Linked DNA regions of Homo sapiens: all the other regions are linked to region 5. Evidence: promoter capture Hi-C in 16 types of primary human blood cells and fetal thymus (Javierre and others, 2016). All regions are on one chromosome and are shown on one strand. The core of a region is centred on a gene start or on the middle of the fragment in contact, and the rest is flanking DNA. Distances in the headings are between cores, read along the strand shown.

Evidence for each region. The method cuts DNA at HindIII sites, captures the fragments that hold promoters and counts their contacts. A CHiCAGO score of 5 or more calls a contact.
Region 1: the fragment with the promoter of OR4S2 here is called in contact with the fragment with the promoter of OR8K5 in region 5 in 6 of 17 cell types (total CD4 T cells, neutrophils, monocytes and 3 more); the score reaches 9.0 in total CD4 T cells.
Region 2: a contact is called between the fragment with the promoter of OR5M1 here and the fragment with the promoter of OR8K5 in region 5, in 6 of 17 cell types (naive B cells, naive CD8 T cells, total B cells and 3 more). The highest score is 8.4, in naive B cells.
Region 3: the fragment with the promoter of OR5D14 here is called in contact with the fragment with the promoter of OR8K5 in region 5 in 12 of 17 cell types (fetal thymus, total B cells, total CD4 T cells and 9 more); the score reaches 13.1 in fetal thymus.
Region 4: the fragment with the promoter of OR5D18 here is called in contact with the fragment with the promoter of OR8K5 in region 5 in 5 of 17 cell types (erythroblasts, naive CD8 T cells, neutrophils and 2 more); the score reaches 7.9 in erythroblasts.
Region 6: a contact is called between the fragment with the promoter of OR5AP2 here and the fragment with the promoter of OR8K5 in region 5, in 8 of 17 cell types (M2 macrophages, endothelial precursors, erythroblasts and 5 more). The highest score is 11.6, in M2 macrophages.
Region 7: a contact is called between the fragment with the promoter of OR5M11 here and the fragment with the promoter of OR8K5 in region 5, in 13 of 17 cell types (erythroblasts, M1 macrophages, M0 macrophages and 10 more). The highest score is 14.3, in erythroblasts.

What each region holds. Positions count from the first base shown.
Region 1 is chr11:55,647,046-55,649,749 of GRCh38, reverse strand. It overlaps OR4S2 (olfactory receptor family 4 subfamily S member 2), which reads right to left and starts at 1,423. Exons shown (of 2, transcript NM_001004059.3): 1 at 1,200-1,423. The HindIII fragment of the contact is 13,020 bases long and covers 1-2,704 here.
Region 2 is chr11:56,613,373-56,616,288 of GRCh38, reverse strand. OR5M1 (olfactory receptor family 5 subfamily M member 1) reads left to right here and starts at 1,415. Exons shown (of 2, transcript NM_001004740.2): 1 at 1,415-1,432; 2 at 2,770-2,916. The coding sequence starts at 2,787. The HindIII fragment of the contact is 6,001 bases long and covers 1-2,916 here.
Region 3 is chr11:55,794,302-55,797,063 of GRCh38, reverse strand. OR5D14 (olfactory receptor family 5 subfamily D member 14) reads right to left here and starts at 1,508. Exons shown (of 1, transcript NM_001004735.1): 1 at 564-1,508. The coding sequence starts at 1,508. The coding sequence ends at 564. The HindIII fragment of the contact is 1,368 bases long and covers 1,439-2,762 here.
Region 4 is chr11:55,818,338-55,821,037 of GRCh38, reverse strand. It overlaps OR5D18 (olfactory receptor family 5 subfamily D member 18), which reads right to left and starts at 1,408. Exons shown (of 1, transcript NM_001001952.1): 1 at 467-1,408. The coding sequence starts at 1,408. The coding sequence ends at 467. The HindIII fragment of the contact is 3,860 bases long and covers 1-2,126 here.
Region 5 is chr11:56,158,852-56,161,592 of GRCh38, reverse strand. It overlaps OR8K5 (olfactory receptor family 8 subfamily K member 5), which reads left to right and starts at 1,276. Exons shown (of 1, transcript NM_001004058.2): 1 at 1,276-2,199. The coding sequence starts at 1,276. The coding sequence ends at 2,199. The HindIII fragment of the contact is 6,274 bases long and covers 314-2,741 here.
Region 6 is chr11:56,640,915-56,643,877 of GRCh38, reverse strand. OR5AP2 (olfactory receptor family 5 subfamily AP member 2) reads left to right here and starts at 1,439. Exons shown (of 1, transcript NM_001002925.1): 1 at 1,439-2,389. The coding sequence starts at 1,439. The coding sequence ends at 2,389. The HindIII fragment of the contact is 8,469 bases long and covers 1-2,660 here.
Region 7 is chr11:56,541,809-56,544,769 of GRCh38, reverse strand. OR5M11 (olfactory receptor family 5 subfamily M member 11) reads left to right here and starts at 1,513. Exons shown (of 1, transcript NM_001005245.1): 1 at 1,513-2,430. The coding sequence starts at 1,513. The coding sequence ends at 2,430. The HindIII fragment of the contact is 1,332 bases long and covers 738-2,069 here.

The DNA of each region.
Region 1 (2,704 bases), core at 174-2,673, 510 kb after region 5:
CCCAATTTGGTCGATTTATATTTCTGGAAGAGATCATCACTGAATGACAATTTTAATGGGTTTAGGAAAATGACATTTATCTAAATGGATGAATATTCATTGGTGAAATTTCAGGCACTACAATGGGGTCATTGGTACATGGATGGAAAAGGGTATCTGTAATAGTTTTGATTAAAGGAGCTTTTAGGATTCTTTCGCTAATCAACCGCAGGTGTAAATGATCCCTCCAATTACAGGTGGTCTAGCAGAGACCTGTAGATCCTCTCAAGATCCATCCAGCTGAATGCTGACAACTCCTACTAAACTCTGTGCTCTCAGCTATCCTTATGCAGTGAAGTCGTGCCTAATACTTCCAGCTTTTGGGAATCTATAGGATTGTGTTTCTTCAGGTATTCATGTTAGAGTTGGCACAGTAGTCATTACAGGTGTGCTATCTCTTGTGCATTACAAAATAATGATTGTAAGAGTAATAGTAATATGATTTAGATACAGTCTCAAGCACATCCCCTGCTTTTACATGCTCATTCCTCTTCAGTTATCCTGCTGAATTAAAAGAAAAATACCATCCTCCACTAAGAGAGCCCCTCAACTTAAGGAAGCTCACAACATAGCAGTTTTGAGCAACAATTATTTATGTTGCTTTGCTCTCATCTAGAAGAAACTGGGCTTTTGCACACAAGCCTGAGGATTTTTTCCCCTACCGTCCATATCACAAGGTTCTAGAGGAATTTTTTTTTTCATTCACCAATCTATTTTATTCAGGTATTCATTTATCTTAATTGCAGGATTGAGATCTAAAGTTCCATTTATCAGAATGTGCATCCTAGTAAAGGCTGTTAACCTTCTGAATCATGGCCTCTCTTGACTCCAACTGATGCAGTAACATCTTGCTGTTTCTCTCCTTAAGCCAATATCCATCACAAGGATGCCTTCCTCCTTTATCTGGGCATGTTGGGCATAATGACTCACTTTCCTTTGAAATTATTGACATTTTCTTATTTGTGTCCATCCTACCCTTCCTCACAGTCATGTTTAGGTACATGTTACTATCTTACTATCATGATTTTAATAATTTCATTCTCTCTGTATTTCAGAGAACAATATTTTTCCATTATTTTATAAATGTTCAAAATCTAACAATTTAATTATCTTTTTCCACAAATATTCTGTATTCGTTTGAAAAGAAAAAAAAATCTCACCAGTATTTTCCAGAGCTTGAGTTCACTTTATGTTTCTATCTCTTCTTGAGTTAATTTGGGTGCAGCTTCCCAAGGTAAAGTAACAGTGATGCCTAGGGAATTCCTTTGTGAATAATTAGTACCGGAAAATACCTGACCCCCCAAACTGAAAGGCTGGTAGAAATGAGTCTTTGTTGTTCCTGGTTTTCTCACCTAATGATACCTGCCATTTCACAGGGTCTTTGACAATAAATGCTGTTTTCTCTATTCTTACAGGTCTATTTAAAGAGGAAGATGCAAAATGATAAATGACCTTGGAGACAGCTTTTCCCCAAAGTCTTCCTCCATAGTCAAAATCAAATTGCAGCCCTACCAATGAACTTTAATTCTAGTGTCTGTTCAATTTTTTAAAATTAAATTTTAAAAATTGTTGCTAAATACAAAAACCGATCAATTCTCATATTAACGACTATAGCCCTAATCCAAAGCAATTCAGCCAAGAGAAGTAATAATTTTATCATTCTAAACCTTGTTTTTGAATTAATATGCTTTACTATATGCATTAAATAGTCCATATTTGATATAACATATTAAGATATCTGTTTTATGTTATTTATTGAATTGTAATTGTTCTTTCTTGAAAGCTATATTGTAATAGAAAATAGTATATTCGATTGTGCTATTTGGGAACATTGCTTTTCTTCTTAATTGATTCTATGCTGATTTATGGAGAAATAGCTGGGATAAGGTTCATGTTTGGCCTATGCTTGGAATAAGTATGGTGTTGAATTTAATTCATTTACTTTTATATTGTAAATTCTTAAGGTTGACTCACGAAAACTAATAATAATCTTGCTTTTTCTCTTCCTATTTCTATTAGTTTCTTTCCCCATGCTTGACTTTTTTACTTTACTCTTCTTACCTTATCTTACCTTTTTCTTTATTTCAAACAACATCCAAAATGTCCAAGAGATCCTACTTATATTTTCACTATCTGGAGTTAGCAGAAGAAATGAGTGAAAAATAAAGAGTAGGAAGTAAAAGAGCAATTATGCCCAGGTTTGTGGAAACATTCATCATGATTAAGCTAGTGTGTTAGTTTCCTGTTGCTGCTGCAATGAATTACCACAAACTTAGTGGCTTAAATCAATACAAAGTCAGTATTTCACAGTTCTGCAGGTGAGAAGTCCAAAATGAGGCTCACTGGGCTAAAATCAAGGCATTGGAAAGGATGAATCCTTCCGAAGTCTGTAGGGGAAAACTCATTCTGTTCCAGCTTCTAGAATCTACCAGCTTCCTTATGGCCCCTTTCCTTCATCTCCAAAGCAGGCAGTGTAGCATCTTCAAATTTAACTTATTCTGCTTCACTTTCCCATTTTAAATAAACCTTGTGAATACGTTGAGCCCACATGGATAGTGCACGATAACATCTTTGTTTTAAGGTCAACTGACTAGCAAACTTAATTTTTATCTACAATCTTAATCACCTTATCATGTAACAAAATATATTGATAAGTTCTGAGGAC
Region 2 (2,916 bases), core at 166-2,665, 450 kb before region 5:
ACATTAAGGGAGGAGGAAATGAGGGACACCAGTTTTATAATCTTATGATACCTTATATTCCATCTTAATTTTTTTTTTTGAGATGAAGTCTCGCTCTGTCACCCAGGCTGAGGTGCAGTGGTGTAATTTTGGCTCATTGCAACCTCTGCCTCCTGGGTTCAAGCAATTCTCCCTGCCTCAGCCTCCTGAGTAGCTGGGATTACAGGCACGCACCACCAAACCTGGCTAAGTTTTGTATTTTTAGTAGAGACAGGGTTTCGCCATGTTGGCCAGGCTGGCCTCAAACTCTTGACCTCAGGTGATCTAGCGGCCTTGGCCTCCCAAAGTGCTGGGATTATAGGCAAGAGCCACCGTGCCCGGCTTCCAAAATATTTAAGCAATATTATTGCATTTTACAATTTTAGTAATGCAAGGAACCAAAATAAAACAGAATAATTGAGATAGAGAAGACTTTACACATCAATTTGAAATAAACATATAGGAATGCCCTATATTCTCAAATTTCATGGGATGTAACAAATCTACATTTTGATTTTGATATATAGCTATATTTTATTAAATGATTTCTCGGAGTATAACCCACCACCCGCAACTCTAATAAAATTAGGGATGATTCTCCGTCTTGGTCAGACTGTACTTTGATCCATTTGTGCTAACCTGGAACTATATGTGCACTGGAAGATACAGACTAATGAACGCATCTCTAGGTCCCTTTGTCCTCCAACAAATACAGTGCTACACAATTTTCAAATATTCTCATTCTATTTGCAATTCCCTTTCTAAATCAACAATTTTATGCATCATCAATTTTATAAATAGCCCTGGTTCTGAGACCTTTGATGATTAGCATGTTAATATTAACCTTGATAGTGCAGACTAGTTCCAAAATAAATCCATAACGCCCGTCCTCCAAAGGATCCTGGGCCCTGACCAATACTTCTGCCTCCTTCTACTGATTATGCCACTCTTCTGCTCTCACAGTCTTTGAAATCTTTCATCTTCTCAAATGTCTCACCTGCCACAACTTCCTACCCCTCACTCATTAGATGACCTCACTGCAGTGTTTATAGGCAAAAGCTGAAGAGTTCTGATGAGAATTCCTTGTTTTCATCATACTAAAAAGGCAGAAGTTATCTACCCATGTTTTCCTCTTCCATGTTATTGAAAGGGATGGCTAATTTCTCTGTTTGTACTAAGGATCTCATGCACACTTGTACCGAAACTCTACATAAATGTAAAATAGGAATTTTATCCTCGCAGGAGAGTCTAGCTCCAGGAAGCATCAAATGAAGGTTATGCTCTTGAGGAACAAAGCATATTTTAATTGGCTCTTTAGAATTAGTTTAAAAATACTCTAGGGAAGATACCTAATAAATATATTGTAAATCTTGCTACCTTGTTTTCATAAGATATGGTCCATTAACATTAACAGGTAGGTCATTTTCTACATTTGTTCACTAAAAATACAATTTGTGTGTGTGTGTGTGTGTGTGTGTGTGTGTGTGTGTGTGTAGAGATAAGTATTCCATCAATGGGGAAAACAAATATTTTCTCCAATTTCACTAGACTTTTCTATCCATATGTTAGTATTGCATTGACTCTCTACAATCAATTATATGTAAGCTCTTTTGATGTATACATGAGAACTAAATAAACAATGGCTTTAAGGTGGAATTTTTGGAGTAGAAATTTTTACAATCTTATGTTACTTTCAAAGAGAACTGAGAGAGAGTGGCTTGAGTTGGAAGCTAAGACCCCTTTTAAAAATTATCTGTGCATACCTAAACAATATTGTCATGAGTGGGTTAGTGGCACAAAAATGGGAACAAAAAAAATCCACACTTTCCCCAAATAGTAGAATTGCATATCTGCTGTTTAAATGCTGCATTCCTAGAAAGATCTTCTTTGAGTGGTCATCTAAAAGCATCCTACATTCATGTTTTCTTCACAGAAAAATGGTTTGCCTGAAATTGTATGTAACTTTTTCTGTGTGTTTAATCTCTGTTCCCTCTATTATAATGTGTGCTCTGCTCCCTCTATTATAATGTGTGCTCCCTGAGCTGGGAGACTTGTTTACTGTAGTAACCGCAGGAATTGGAACAGAAAGAAATGAAGCTATACAGTATACATGAGTAAACAGGCAGTGACATTACAAAGTGGAAAAAAACAAGTCTTCATTTTGTACCCTCTTAGCCATATATCAGATAGAAATTAATTTCTCTAGTTTAATCGTTCCTGAATAAAGGTAAGGCACACAGCTATGGGTCTTAATTGAAAATGCTTTGCTTTTCTTTCTTCATTTTGTATCTGAAACAATACAATATCAGAGCTGGAGGTATAATAAAGATCAGACTTCCTTTATTTATCCATTTGAAAGATGCAAATAACCTAGGGTTTTTGTATTTAATTTTCATTCCTTTGGATTTTTTGTTTCCTCACGAAGTTTGAATAAAATTACCAAATGTGGAGTACACCAAGAAGACAGGTATAAATGTAGGAATGAATAAACTTATGTATGTATACATGTATGGCAGAGAGAAATAGAGAATATGTATGTTTGTGTAAGTTATGTGGGTTTGATGTATAGAAAGATACAGATTAAAACAGACATATAGGGAGACAATGTTATGTAAAATTTCCGATGTGATTATTGAAACAAGAGAAGTAATTGTCACCTAGATAAATAGATGAATGAGCGAATGATAAATGGATGAAACAAATGCCAAATCTGAATCAGAGAGAAATCCTCACATTCTTTGTCACTTTCAGTTTCAAGAGATAAGAAGATGTTCTCCCCAAACCACACCATAGTGACAGAATTCATTCTCTTGGGACTGACAGACGACCCAGTGCTAGAGAAGATCCTGTTTGGGGTATTCCTTGCGATCTACCTAATCACACTGGCAGGCAACCTGT
Region 3 (2,762 bases), core at 259-2,758, 360 kb after region 5:
TAATCAATATCCATTTTTATGTTTAAAAAGTTTTTTCTGACCATAAACCAGCATCAGCCATTTCAAATTGCTTCCTATATCTCTTTGAGACAATCTGATTAGCTGCTGATAGTATTCTATCTTTCTGGAGCATTAAATTGCCCAAAGCTCATCTTGCCTATTTTCCACCCTAGACTTCAAATTAGCCATTTCTCCAAGAAGCCCTAGTTTTGTTCCTAGGGGAAAGGTTTCTTTTTAGAGAAAATTTGGAGAATGTTGCTTGAATTTGTATAGTATTTGTTACCAAATATTTGTGTTTATTTAGTCATTCATATAAAAGTTAGAAATAATTTTGAAATATGGTTTCTCATTGTTTTCAGATTAAATGTTTATTTTCATTCATTTTGTATAAACTGGACTAAACTTGTAGAGATTTCTGAACCTGATAATACTGGGAATGCTATATCAATTCACATTTGACAATTCCATAAAAACCTCATATAAATATATGCTCTAGGCTTTAGAAACATTGTAGCCTCTGTTTGGGTTGTTCATTTGGATTGAAAACAACTTTTGAGACTGGTTCAGTGAAATGGAACTTGTGTATGTATTAACTTCCAGAAAGCATCCTTCACGTCTTTATTCCTTAGGCTGTAGATCAGAGGGTTCAGCATGGGGTTGACAACTGTGTAAAATACAGAGGCCACTTTGACTGTTTGCCGAGAGTTTTTGGAGTTGGGTACACAGTAAAGGAAAAGGATGGTCCCATGGAAGATGGTGATAGAAGTCAGGTGGGAGGCCCAGGTGGAGAAGGCTTTGTGGCGCCCACTAACAGAACGGATTTTTAGTACAGTCACAAAAATGAAAACATAGGAAGTGAGGATGATCAGTAGTGTACACATCTCATTGAAGGTGGCGAAGCTGAAAAGCAGCAGGTGGGGGATGAGTATATCAGAGCCAGACACAGAGATGAGAGCAGTATACTCACAAAAGAAGTGGTTGATTACATTAGGTCCAGAGAAGTTTAACCGGAGAGCATAACAAAGGAGTACCAAGGGGCCAAACATGCCCCAGAGATATGACCCAGCCACCAGCAGGGCACAGAGCCTCTGTGACATGGCCACTGTATAAAGCAGAGGATTGCAGATGGCCACAAAGCGGTCATAGGCCATCACTGCCAGCAAGAAAGACTCTGTCACCACAGCAGTGCAGGACAGGAAGTACTGCATCATGCAGCTAAAGTAGAAGATGCTTTTATCTGCCATTACCAAGTTCTCAAGCAGCTTGGGAGTGACAATGGAAGAGTAACAAAAATCAACAAAAGAGAGGTGACTAAGGAAAAAGTACATAGGAGTGTGAAATTTGGGGTTAATCTTGATTATTATGATCATCCCAAGGTTTCCTACCACTGTGATAACATACATGAGCAGAAACACAAGGAAGAGAGGAATCTGAAGCTTTGGGTAATCTGTGAAACCTAAAAGGGCAAAGGTGGGCTCCATGCTCAGATTCCTTAAAACCATCATCATAATTCCTTTTAATGGAAGGGTTGAAGAGAATTGTTCCTGCCAAAGCAAAATATGGGGTGAGTGATAATTATGTCATGACTTTCTTTGATTAAAAGGAAAAAAGGAGAAGGAATAGTTACTGGTCCTAGTTTTGTCCAAGAAGAACATACCTCATGCAGGCAGCTGTTATGTCTAAAACAAACCAAGCCAAGTCTTTGGAGTGTCTTTCCATTTTTATTACACTTTCTGTTTTCATACATATATATATGTGTGAATATATATGTGTATGTGTATGTGTGTGTATATGTGTACAGTAGTATACATGTCTACACATTAACTAGTAGCATGACATGCACATAACTTATAGAAAATGTTTATACATAAATATATAAACTAATAAAGATTCTGTGGAAAATGTAAAATATTTACATCAAACAACAACATGCATTGCTACTGTATTTGTTTATATAGACAAATTGATTAAAATATTCAGAATATATTTCTATTCTAAGGATAAAGGAAAATATTGTAGAAATCTGGAAAAAGAGCACACTAATTCCACTTTTTACCAACTTTTATTCTAGAAAGGCTACTTCTCTCATTGAATATCTTAGTTGCTGAGGAGTTGACAAGGACAATGGCCTACTTTTGACCTCTTGGTGGAATGGGCATTTTATTGGGGTTTATGACTTAAGGGTCAGCATCTACTATAGCTCAGGTATTGCATAAGTATCTTATAAGAGTCTCAAGATTTATCAGGTGAAAGTTCCCTTAAGCCTGACTAGTTTTCAATCTTATAAAAATTTACACACTAATTTAAGATGAATATAAAGGAAATATGGATAAATATCCATTTCCAAGTAGCAAGTTTATACTATTCATCATGAGATAATTTTCAATGGATATAAGGCTAAATATTTTCATGAGTGTTGACCTCATTTTTTAATATTATTGGGCACAGAATTGAATAACACAGTGATTTAACATTTAAAAAATCAAAGGCCCCATTTGCCGTATCAGGAAGACCCTATTTTCAGTTTCATAGAAAGCCTGAATACACTTACCTGCTACATACAAAGAAACAGGCTGCCACCCTCCTGTCTCTTCAGACAGTGTATACCTGAGGCACCAAGACTCTTTCATTTAACTTCATAGCCCTAGGGACTCAAACTCTGGAGAATCACTAACAACTTACTCTTTACAAGCATCAAAACAGGCAATTAAGGCAAATACCAAGTCTCTTGTGTCACATTTAGTGACTGGAATTTCCTTGAA
Region 4 (2,700 bases), core at 159-2,658, 340 kb after region 5:
AATTTCTGCCTTACACAATGGCCACTTCTTCATTGTCCTATTATCAACACAGTTTTCATCCTTGAAGATGAGGACTATTTCTTCTTTTAACTTATTTTGCACATTTATAAAAGAAATTCATATGTTTCCTAAGCACTTAGTCTATTCCCGGTATCTTATAAGGAAAGGACATGAAATTAATATCCATTGACTTACGTAAGGTGTCCATTATATTTTAATCTTCACAATCAGACTATGATCTAACCCATACTATACTAATTTCATAAATGAAATATTAAAGATTAGAGGGATTACTGATGCTTCCCAGAAAGTAAGAGACAGAGCTAAGTTTAGTCTGTTGAAAAGAAAATCCATTTCGTTGAGTTGTACAACCCTAACTTTGTTTATTTGTAAAGATATCTTTAAGATCAATATTTATGGACAGAATTTATTTATATGTGTGACAAACTCCATGAAAGTAACAGGCTCAGTAAGAGAAGACTTTGGTGTCCAGTATCTCGGTGACTGTATCCTTGACATCTTTATTTCTCAGACTGTAGATCAGGGGATTCAACATGGGGATCACCACGGTGTAAAACACAGAGGCCACTTTGACTGTGTGCCTGGAGTTTTTGGAGTTGGGCACACAGTAAAGGAAGAGGATGGTGCCATGGAAGATGGTGATGGCAGTCAGGTGGGAGGCACAGGTGGAGAAGGCTTTGCGGCGCCCACTGACTGAACGCATCTTGAGGATGGTTACAACAATGAACGCATAAGATGTGAGAACGATGAGTAGTGTGCTGATTTCATTAAAGGTGGCAAGAAAGAATAGCAGCCACTGGTTGATGTAAGTATCAGAGCAAGAAAGGGAGAGTAGTGAGGAGAACTCACAGAAGAAGTGATTGATTGTGTTGAAACCATGAAAACATAACTTTAAAGCAGAGCACGTCAGTTCCAAGGAACATGAGACTCCCCAGGCATAGGATCCCACAACCAGCAGCACGCAGAGTTTCTGGGACATGTTAACTGTGTAGAGCAGAGGGTTGCAAATGGCCACGAAGCGGTCATAGGCCATCACAGCTAATAAAAAGGATTCAGTGACCACAAAGGTACAGAAGAAAAAGAATTGTACTACGCATCCTAAAAATGAAATGGTTCTGTCTTTGACAACAAGGTTCACCAACATCTTGGGAGCAATGATGGAGGAATAGCAGAAATCCACAAAGGAGAGTTGGCTGAGGAAAAAGTACATGGGGGTATGCAGTTTGGGGTTGATTTTGATGATCACAATCAACCCAATATTCCCTAGCACAGTGACATTGTAGATGGCCAGAAAAACCAGGAAGAGTGGGACTTGCAGTTCTGGGTAATCTGAGAAGCCCAAGAGGGTGAACGTGGTCCCACTTGTATTTCTATCAGTCAGCAGCATCGCTTCTGTTTCTTCGAATCTGAAAGTTAGTTCTGAAAACAAAAATGTTAAGGAGAATGAGAAAATAAGAAGGGTGATTGAATACCTTTACGGCTCCTGAAGGATGAAGCAAATATCTCTTCCGGAATCTATGAGTTTGTTGTTTAAGATTTCTTAAATATCTAACATGTAAAAACACTGTAATGTTTTTTAATTTCTTAAGAAAAATACAATTATTGAGTAAAAGAGTAAGTTAGTAACTGTAATTTTTAATATTTCCAAATATAGGAAAATGAGATTAAATATTTGTGATTATTTTAAATTAAAAATTTACATAATAATTTCAGGCCTCCTTAAGCATTCTACATAAATGATCTTCCTCGTATAATATGATGACTGATTGTGTAAATCTTATAATCAGTTATACAAATCAAAATTTCATAAATTAGTTTTCACATAATTTGTTTATACGATGACATTAACTATCAAGAGCCCTAACGCTTAACATTTGTGCCTTTATTGTTAATTCCATATAGCAGTTTAATGTTTGTCTGACCCAGAAAATTTGACTTCAAAATACAGCTGAACTAATTGTTTCAGAGCGTATGCTCCAAAATCAGGCTGTACTAATTATCAATCCTTCCTCATTGCTTGAGAAATAATAAATATCGAATAGTCAATACAGATACCCTTGTTTATTCTTTATTCTATAGGTGACAAAGTAGAAGCCAGAGAAGCTTTGAATTTCCTATCGATATGCCCAGGAAGGCCAATCTACACATCTGTGACTAGGGTTTTGATCCTTGAACTCCTAGACATGTAACCCTTTACCCGCACCAAACTCTGCTCCATTATCTAGGTCGAGATACTAACACATTCCCTTCATTAATAACCATACTTTCAATTAATAAGCAGACTAGAGAATCTACATAGTCCAGTGACAGTTACTGCCACAAAGATATATTAGAAAGCAGCATCAAGATAAAACACATGAGAATGGGATTGAGGAAAATCTTTTTACCCAGAAATAACTAGTGTAAGAGTCTGACTTGCAAACTTCCCTTTTCTTCTAGGTCCTCTCTGTCTATCCCTGTCTCCATGTCTATTTCTTTTCTCTCCCTTCAAGACACATTATATATTCATTGTGTCCATCTATTACCTATGAAGGAGAAGAACTAAAAACTTGAGATAGTACAGCAACATGAATACATTTCATGAGAAAACAGAAAACAATAATAGGAAAGAATCATTATATTGCTCTAATTAGTGTCCAACACCTCTCAGATGCTATCATATCTGTAATCTCTTTCTCT
Region 5 (2,741 bases), core at 27-2,526:
CAGGGACGTTCCACTTTCTTTTATTGACTTCCCGTGTATTTTTTAAATAAAGGGAGAAGTACTTTTCATTGAAATAGTTTTAATTACAGTATTATATCTCCATGAATACTCCACTGTACAATTCCAGAAAAAAAGTCATTCACTAATATATGATGTCCTAAATTCTCAAATTATTTAAATGATTTATAGAACCTACCATCTTCACAGTGTTTTATTACAGAAAATAAAGTACATATAATTAAATAGTCATCACTGAATATTGATTTAAATCATGTTTTTGCAGAAGTGGATCCAGATTATGTGTCTTGAAGCTTAGAAGAATTTGACTTTTTAGATAAAATTACACATACAAGTTGAAAGATAAATGGGAATATTTATTTAGAATAGAAAATTAGCTTTAAATTGTAATTAGTAAACAAACCCATGGCCACAAACTATATAAAATTTATTAATATAGTATGTTAATTAATCAAATGCCAAATGCATCTCAGCATACAGGTGGCAAGAGTATCCTTAGAAGACATTCTTAAGTCAGAATAGGTAGTATTATTCAGTGATAAATATCATAGTGTCTGAATGATATAAACATATCCATTGAACATCAAATAAACTATTATTAACTCAATCCTTCTTTAGCTAGATCCCACAATGCTTGCAGAAATGTCAAGTCACTATGATATTAGTTGAAGTGTGATATACTAGAAGTTGGAATGAAAACAGAAAGCAGCCTTAATTGATCATGATTATTATATCTTACATTTGAAATTTTACAAAGATATATCATTTTTGCGTGCATTCGTAAGTCCCCACACAAGACCCTGGAAGTGCAAATGAGGGACCCCAAATCTTAACCTTCATTATCTTATTGCCATCTCTACCTCTGTCTTTGAGAATATCAAAATTACAGAAAAGTTTTACAACAAAAGTGGAAGTGAACAAAAGAAAATCATGATACCATTGTGCAGATGAAAAGAGCATAATCTTTTTGTAATAATACCTATATGGCTGTGTTATTAACCGATATACTTCAAATATTGATGAAACTATTTAATCTATGTTGTTTCAGTGCATGTATTTTACATGAATTCCTCTTTTAGGAAAGTAGAAAATTTTGCTTTATATTTCATTTCTGAATCAAATGTAGAAATAATGTTTCTATTATCTATTGTGAATAACAATCTATTCTGTCTACAAATATTATAATTTGTTTAAATAGCACTACATGGAACAGCTAATAACCCAACTGTTTCTTCCTAGAAGAGATAACTGGACTAAATGGGCCAACACAATCTAACAGTGCTAACTGAATTCATTCTGATGGAACTCACAAGGCGGCCTGAGCTGCAGATTCCCCTTTTTGGAGTCTTCCTCGTCATCTACCTAATCACAGTGGTGGGCAACCTAACTATGATCATTTTGACCAAACTGGACTCCCACTTACATACACCTATGTACTTTTCTATCAGACATTTGGCTTTTGTTGATCTTGGTAATTCTACTGTCATTTGTCCCAAGGTGCTGGCAAATTTTGTTGTGGATCGAAATACTATTTCCTATTATGCATGTGCTGCACAGCTGGCATTCTTCCTTATGTTCATTATCAGTGAATTTTTCATCCTGTCAGCCATGGCCTATGACCGCTATGTGGCCATTTGTAACCCTCTGCTCTATTATGTTATTATGTCTCAGCGACTGTGTCATGTACTGGTGGGCATTCAATATCTCTACAGCACATTTCAGGCTCTGATGTTCACTATTAAGATTTTTACATTGACCTTCTGTGGCTCTAATGTCATCAGTCATTTTTACTGTGATGATGTTCCTTTGCTACCTATGCTTTGCTCAAATGCACAGGAAATAGAATTGTTGAGCATACTATTTTCTGTATTTAATTTGATCTCCTCCTTTCTGATAGTCTTAGTGTCCTACATGTTGATTTTGTTAGCTATATGTCAAATGCATTCTGCAGAGGGCAGGAAAAAGGCTTTCTCCACATGTGGTTCCCATTTGACAGTGGTGGTTGTGTTCTATGGGTCTCTACTCTTCATGTACATGCAGCCCAATTCCACTCACTTCTTTGATACTGATAAAATGGCTTCTGTGTTTTACACTTTAGTAATCCCCATGCTTAACCCTTTGATTTACAGCTTAAGAAACGAAGAGGTGAAAAATGCCTTCTATAAGCTCTTTGAGAATTGATGTCAACTTTGTGTTTAATAATCAATTTGTAATATTGTTATAATAAATATATAATATAGATTAATGTCACTTGATAATTTTTCATGTGTATATAAATTTTCCAATTTTCAAATTTTTTTAATTGTTTTTTATTTCAATAATTTTTGGGAAGTAGGAGGTTTCTGGTTATGTGAATAAGTTCATTGGGGTAATTTCTGAGGTTTTGGTGCACTCATCACCTGAGCAGTGTACACTGTACTCAATGTGTAGCCTTTTATCCCTCGCCCACACTGCACACTTTTCCCTGTGTCCCCAAAATACATTATGTCATTCTTACCTATTTGTATCCTCATAGTTTAGCTCCCACTTATAAGTGAGAACATATGATATTTGGTTTTCCATTCCTGAGTTACTTCACTTAGAATAAAGGTCTCCAGCTCCATCCAGGTTGCTGTGAATGCCATTATTTTGTTCCTTTTTATAAGTGAGTAGTATTCCATCATATATATATATACATATATATATATATACACACACACACACATATATATAGATAAAGAAAA
Region 6 (2,963 bases), core at 190-2,689, 480 kb before region 5:
TTGGAAGATCTAGTTTGGGCATCTATTCTGAATTTTCTTTTTTATTTCTTTTACTTTTCTTATCCTATGTTTGTCTTCATTACACCTTGCAAAGGGTGACTCTTATTTCCATTTTGATTACTTGGTATTAAATTATTCCCTTGATTAAGTATGGTGGCTGAAAAATTGCATGTGCTACTTCTGATGTTTTCTGGTTCTCTTGAGAACTTGTGAATGTGAGTATTAGAGATTTTCACTGGCTTGGCTACTTCTGCCATTTTTATCGGGGATGCCTACTCATTCTTACAATCTGATTCTCTAAATATTGGAATGAATTGTGGAAAATTACTATTTAACTGACCCTATTCTGTTCTCTGTAGATGTTTATTATGGAAAATCAGAGTGGGGTTCGAACTGTACTGGCTGTGTGGGAATATTCTCTATTTTCTTCTTTGGCCAGGCATTTTTAAGCTCTTCCTCTACCCCAAGAGATTCTGCTGTTTTTCTTTCTTTCTTTCTTTTCTCTTTCTTTCCTTCTCTCTTTCTTTCTTTCCTTTCTTTCTTTTTTCCTTCCTTCCTTCCTTCCTTCCTTCCTTCCTTCCTTCCTTCCTTCCTTCCTTCTCTCTCTCCTTCCTTCCTTCTTTCTTTCTTTCTTTGTTTCCTTCTTTCTTTCTTTCTCTTTTTTTTTTTTTTTTGGCACCGTCTCACTCTACTGCACAGGCTGGAGTGGTGCAGTGGTGCAAACCCAGCTCAGTGCAGCCTCAAACTCCTGGGGTCAAGCAATCCTCCCACCTCAGCCTCCTGAGTAGCTGAGACCACAGGGATGAGCCACCACACATAGCTTTTTTTTTTTTTTTTTTTAAATATTGCAGAGAGGAGATTTTGCCACATTGCCCAGGCTGGTCTTTAACTCTTGAGCTCAAGTGATCTGCCTTGCCTTGGTCTCTCAAAGTACTGGGATTACAGTTGTAAGCCACCAGGCCCAGCCCAACTATTTTTCTTGTCTGGCACTATAGATTAATTTTATTAACTTTCAATATTTTTATTCATTCTATTAGTACTGAGGAGGAATTGTAAGTGTCCTGAATTCATTCTATCATCCTTCTCCAGAAGTTGTGTCTGGAGGGTATGTCAGTATATATAAATTAATTTATTTATCACAAGTAATTATGACAGTCACATCTTAAGAATAAGTTATTTTAATTATTCAATAAAGAGTTAACTGTAGGAATGACCATAGTTAATACACACTAAATCACTTGCTTCAGTCATTAGTAGACAGCACATCTAGTACTACAAGTCTTTTGATTTGGCATCAAATCCAACATACCTTTTATTATGCTTTTCACTTTTTGCTCTTCTGTTAGAAGTTGTTTCACTAAAAATATATTATAGCTCCATCATGTATTCATCTGACTAAATTCCACTGTGCATCTTCTTTCTTATTGCAGCTCAAATGATGAGACTTATGAAAGAGGTTCGAGGCAGAAATCAAACAGAAGTAACAGAATTTCTCCTCTTAGGACTTTCCGACAATCCAGATCTACAAGGAGTCCTCTTTGCATTGTTTCTGTTGATCTATATGGCAAACATGGTGGGCAATTTGGGGATGATTGTATTGATTAAGATTGATCTCTGTCTCCACACCCCCATGTATTTCTTTCTCAGTAGCCTCTCTTTTGTAGATGCCTCTTACTCTTCTTCCGTCACTCCCAAGATGCTGGTGAACCTCATGGCTGAGAATAAGGCCATTTCTTTTCATGGATGTGCTGCCCAGTTCTACTTCTTTGGCTCCTTCCTGGGGACTGAGTGCTTCCTGTTGGCCATGATGGCATATGACCGCTATGCAGCCATTTGGAACCCCCTGCTCTACCCAGTTCTCGTGTCTGGGAGAATTTGCTTTTTGCTAATAGCTACCTCCTTCTTAGCAGGTTGTGGAAATGCAGCCATACATACAGGGATGACTTTTAGGTTGTCCTTTTGTGGTTCTAATAGGATCAACCATTTCTACTGTGACACCCCGCCACTGCTCAAACTCTCTTGCTCTGATACCCACTTCAATGGCATTGTGATCATGGCATTCTCAAGTTTTATTGTCATCAGCTGTGTTATGATTGTCCTCATTTCCTACCTGTGTATCTTCATTGCCGTCTTGAAGATGCCTTCGTTAGAGGGCAGGCACAAAGCCTTCTCCACCTGTGCCTCTTACCTCATGGCTGTCACCATATTCTTTGGAACAATCCTCTTCATGTACTTGCGCCCTACATCTAGCTACTCAATGGAGCAAGACAAGGTTGTCTCTGTCTTTTATACAGTAATAATCCCTGTGCTAAATCCCCTCATCTATAGTTTAAAAAATAAGGATGTAAAAAAGGCCCTAAAGAAGATCTTATGGAAACACATCTTGTAGAGCCATGTTACCCATCATTTGTTACGTAGAAGAAAATACATTTTCATGTTAACTGTATTCTCTGATTGTTTAAGCTGTTTCTCTGTGTTAAAGTAGATAATTTAAAATGAAGTATACTTTTTAATATCCTAGTATCTCATATATATATACACACACACACACGGGTCCCTTTGATGCACCAATACACTAGATGAAGGTTGGGACTGGAAAAAGTATCAAAACACTTGGAATTGGCTAATCTGGACTTAAGTTTTAATTTAAATATTAAGCTTATCTCAGTCTGAGTTTTATTATACAAACATTGGTGTCTTTGGGTTCTGGGCAAACAAACTGAGACAGAGAGATATTTTTAGGCAGAAAGTTTATCAGAGTGTTCTCACAAACAATATATAGTGAGGGGAGCAGGATTGGACAGAAGGAGTTGAATTGTGACGAAGACTGAGCCACTGTTACATGGCGTTCTGCAGAGATGTCCTTCAGAGATGTCCCAAATTAAGAAAAAAGGAACAAGTATTTGTACCTCCACAATAGCCAATTTTTGGACATGATCACCCACTGAGAGGGGGTAATATTA
Region 7 (2,961 bases), core at 264-2,763, 380 kb before region 5:
TCTCAAGGCCTTCCAGGTCTATACATACAATTTTATGAAACAGTTTAGCTTTAGAAAGGTGATATGTATTGCAGCAGCAGCTAATAAAGGAAGTTTTTAAAATACATAATTTTCAGTTCTTACCTCAGATTCTCAGATTGTATGCACTAGTAGTGTGACCTCGGTTCAATTATTTAACCTTTTTGTACGTTGCTTTTCTCAATAGTAACAGCAAGACAGAGTTTTGATTATAGGCATTCTAAAACTTACAGTAAAATAAATGAGGTGACTCATTTTGAGATGAGACAAGAATTGAGAAGCCTGTAATAAAAATTTCAAGTATGAAAGAATGGGCAAAAATTAAAAACTTCTCGAAAGAAAGGAAAATGTGAATTAGCAAAGATTCTGATGTGAAGAGAGGTAAAAAGCCAAAAGGATTTGTAATACCTCTTGTTAGATACAAGTTGTGATTAAAAGATTAAATACCAACTCTGAAAATATTAATTTATTTTCTTTCTAAACACATTAAGTCATTGCTCTAAACATCCTCAAGATACTATATGAAAATTTATTTTATTTCACAGTTCTTTGTTCATTTATTTGGCATATGTTTATTGAGCCATTCTGACTGTGCATTTTGAGCTATGATCTTGGAACACTTGCATTAGAATCCTACAGATAATCATTAGAGATGAAGATTCCAGTACCCCACATAAGAATTTCTGCAAAAACCTGTGATATGGGCTAATAAACAAGCTTCCCAAGAATTGCTTCTACACTAAGTTTCAATAATCACTTAATTCTCCTGAGAACATGACATCACGCAAGGCTACATGGAGATAAATCTGTGAGTAAAAATTGCAAGTCATTCATTCTTACATGCTCTCCTTTTTGCATTTTAAGAAAATTTAGTATAAAAATATGTGTTGAGAAGTATAATTAAAAAATGAACTTCACTTTGTCCCTGCTCTCAACACCATTATGTGATGAGAAAGTATATACTTTATAATGATACAATGGGGGCTAAATAATAAATTAGAGAAATATAGAATACTCTGGAAATAAAGAAGAGAGAATTCAGTGACACGTATTAGGAGAAATGGATGAGAAATGCTTCACAAAGAAGTGGCCTTTAAAGTGGGTCATGTAGCATGAATAGAATTAGGTTTTAAAAAGTACAGGAAGATAGAAGAGATGTAGCTCAGTCATATAGATAGATAGATAGATAGATAGATAGATAGATGATGGATAGATAGATACAGGTGTAGGTATAGATATATCTATAGGTGTAGAGAAAGAATATATTAGTAATGTAATGCCTAGGCAAATGATATAATGACATTGTAGACTTACAAAATTATAGTAAGTCTACCATAATTACCAAAACCAGTTTATGGTAGTACCCAGAAATAGATAACTTTCGATGATATATGAAGATGTGGAGAAAAACTAATTCAAATGAACATTAACATGGTATGTGCATTTGTTTATATTGGCTTTATTTCCATAGCTTGAAGAGCAAACTGTCAGGAAATGTCCAACACAAATGGCAGTGCAATCACAGAATTCATTTTACTTGGGCTCACAGATTGCCCGGAACTCCAGTCTCTGCTTTTTGTGCTGTTTCTGGTTGTTTACCTCGTCACCCTGCTAGGCAACCTGGGCATGATAATGTTAATGAGACTGGACTCTCGCCTTCACACGCCCATGTACTTCTTCCTCACTAACTTAGCCTTTGTGGATTTGTGCTATACATCAAATGCAACCCCGCAGATGTCGACTAATATCGTATCTGAGAAGACCATTTCCTTTGCTGGTTGCTTTACACAGTGCTACATTTTCATTGCCCTTCTACTCACTGAGTTTTACATGCTGGCAGCAATGGCCTATGACCGCTATGTGGCCATATATGACCCTCTGCGCTACAGTGTGAAAACGTCCAGGAGAGTTTGCATCTGCTTGGCCACATTTCCCTATGTCTATGGCTTCTCAGATGGACTCTTCCAGGCCATCCTGACCTTCCGCCTGACCTTCTGTAGATCCAGTGTCATCAACCACTTCTACTGTGCTGACCCGCCGCTCATTAAGCTTTCTTGTTCTGATACTTATGTCAAAGAGCATGCCATGTTCATATCTGCTGGCTTCAACCTCTCCAGCTCCCTCACCATCGTCTTGGTGTCCTATGCCTTCATTCTTGCTGCCATCCTCCGGATCAAATCAGCAGAGGGAAGGCACAAGGCATTCTCCACCTGTGGTTCCCATATGATGGCTGTCACCCTGTTTTATGGGACTCTCTTTTGCATGTATATAAGACCACCAACAGATAAGACTGTTGAGGAATCTAAAATAATAGCTGTCTTTTACACCTTTGTGAGTCCGGTACTTAATCCATTGATCTACAGTCTGAGGAATAAAGATGTGAAGCAGGCCTTGAAGAATGTCCTGAGATGAAATATTGTCATGACCATGGTGATGCCTTTGTTTCCTAATAAACATTAAATCGAAATCTTTGGCTCACATGTCCTAGCGTTCTGATGGTGAGTTTTAATATTCTCTGTGAGTCTATGTTGAGTGTCTCAGCTAAAAAGCTCATGCTGGGTAAAAATGAGATTTTTCTAGGCTTTGCTCCTCCACATATATTCCATGAATCAGCAGCATGAGCTCTTCCTTGGAGGTTGTTACACGTACAGAATCAAAGTCTGCACCTCAGGTGCACTGTATTTAAATATGTGTTTTATCCAAACTCCTAGATGATTGATAAGCACACTGAATTTTGAGGAGCACTGCTGTGGGTGAAACGTGGCATGCCCTGGAACACTGTTGTGCTCTTTTTGTTTACAATGGCAAACAAAATAAATGTGCTCCCAGCCCAATTTCTTGAATGTATTCTATTCTTATTCTCGCCTGCTGCTTCAGCAGAGATGTCTTTAAGAAACCCATTCTTCTGCACTCCAAGAAATCCATTCTTCTGTACTCCTTTCC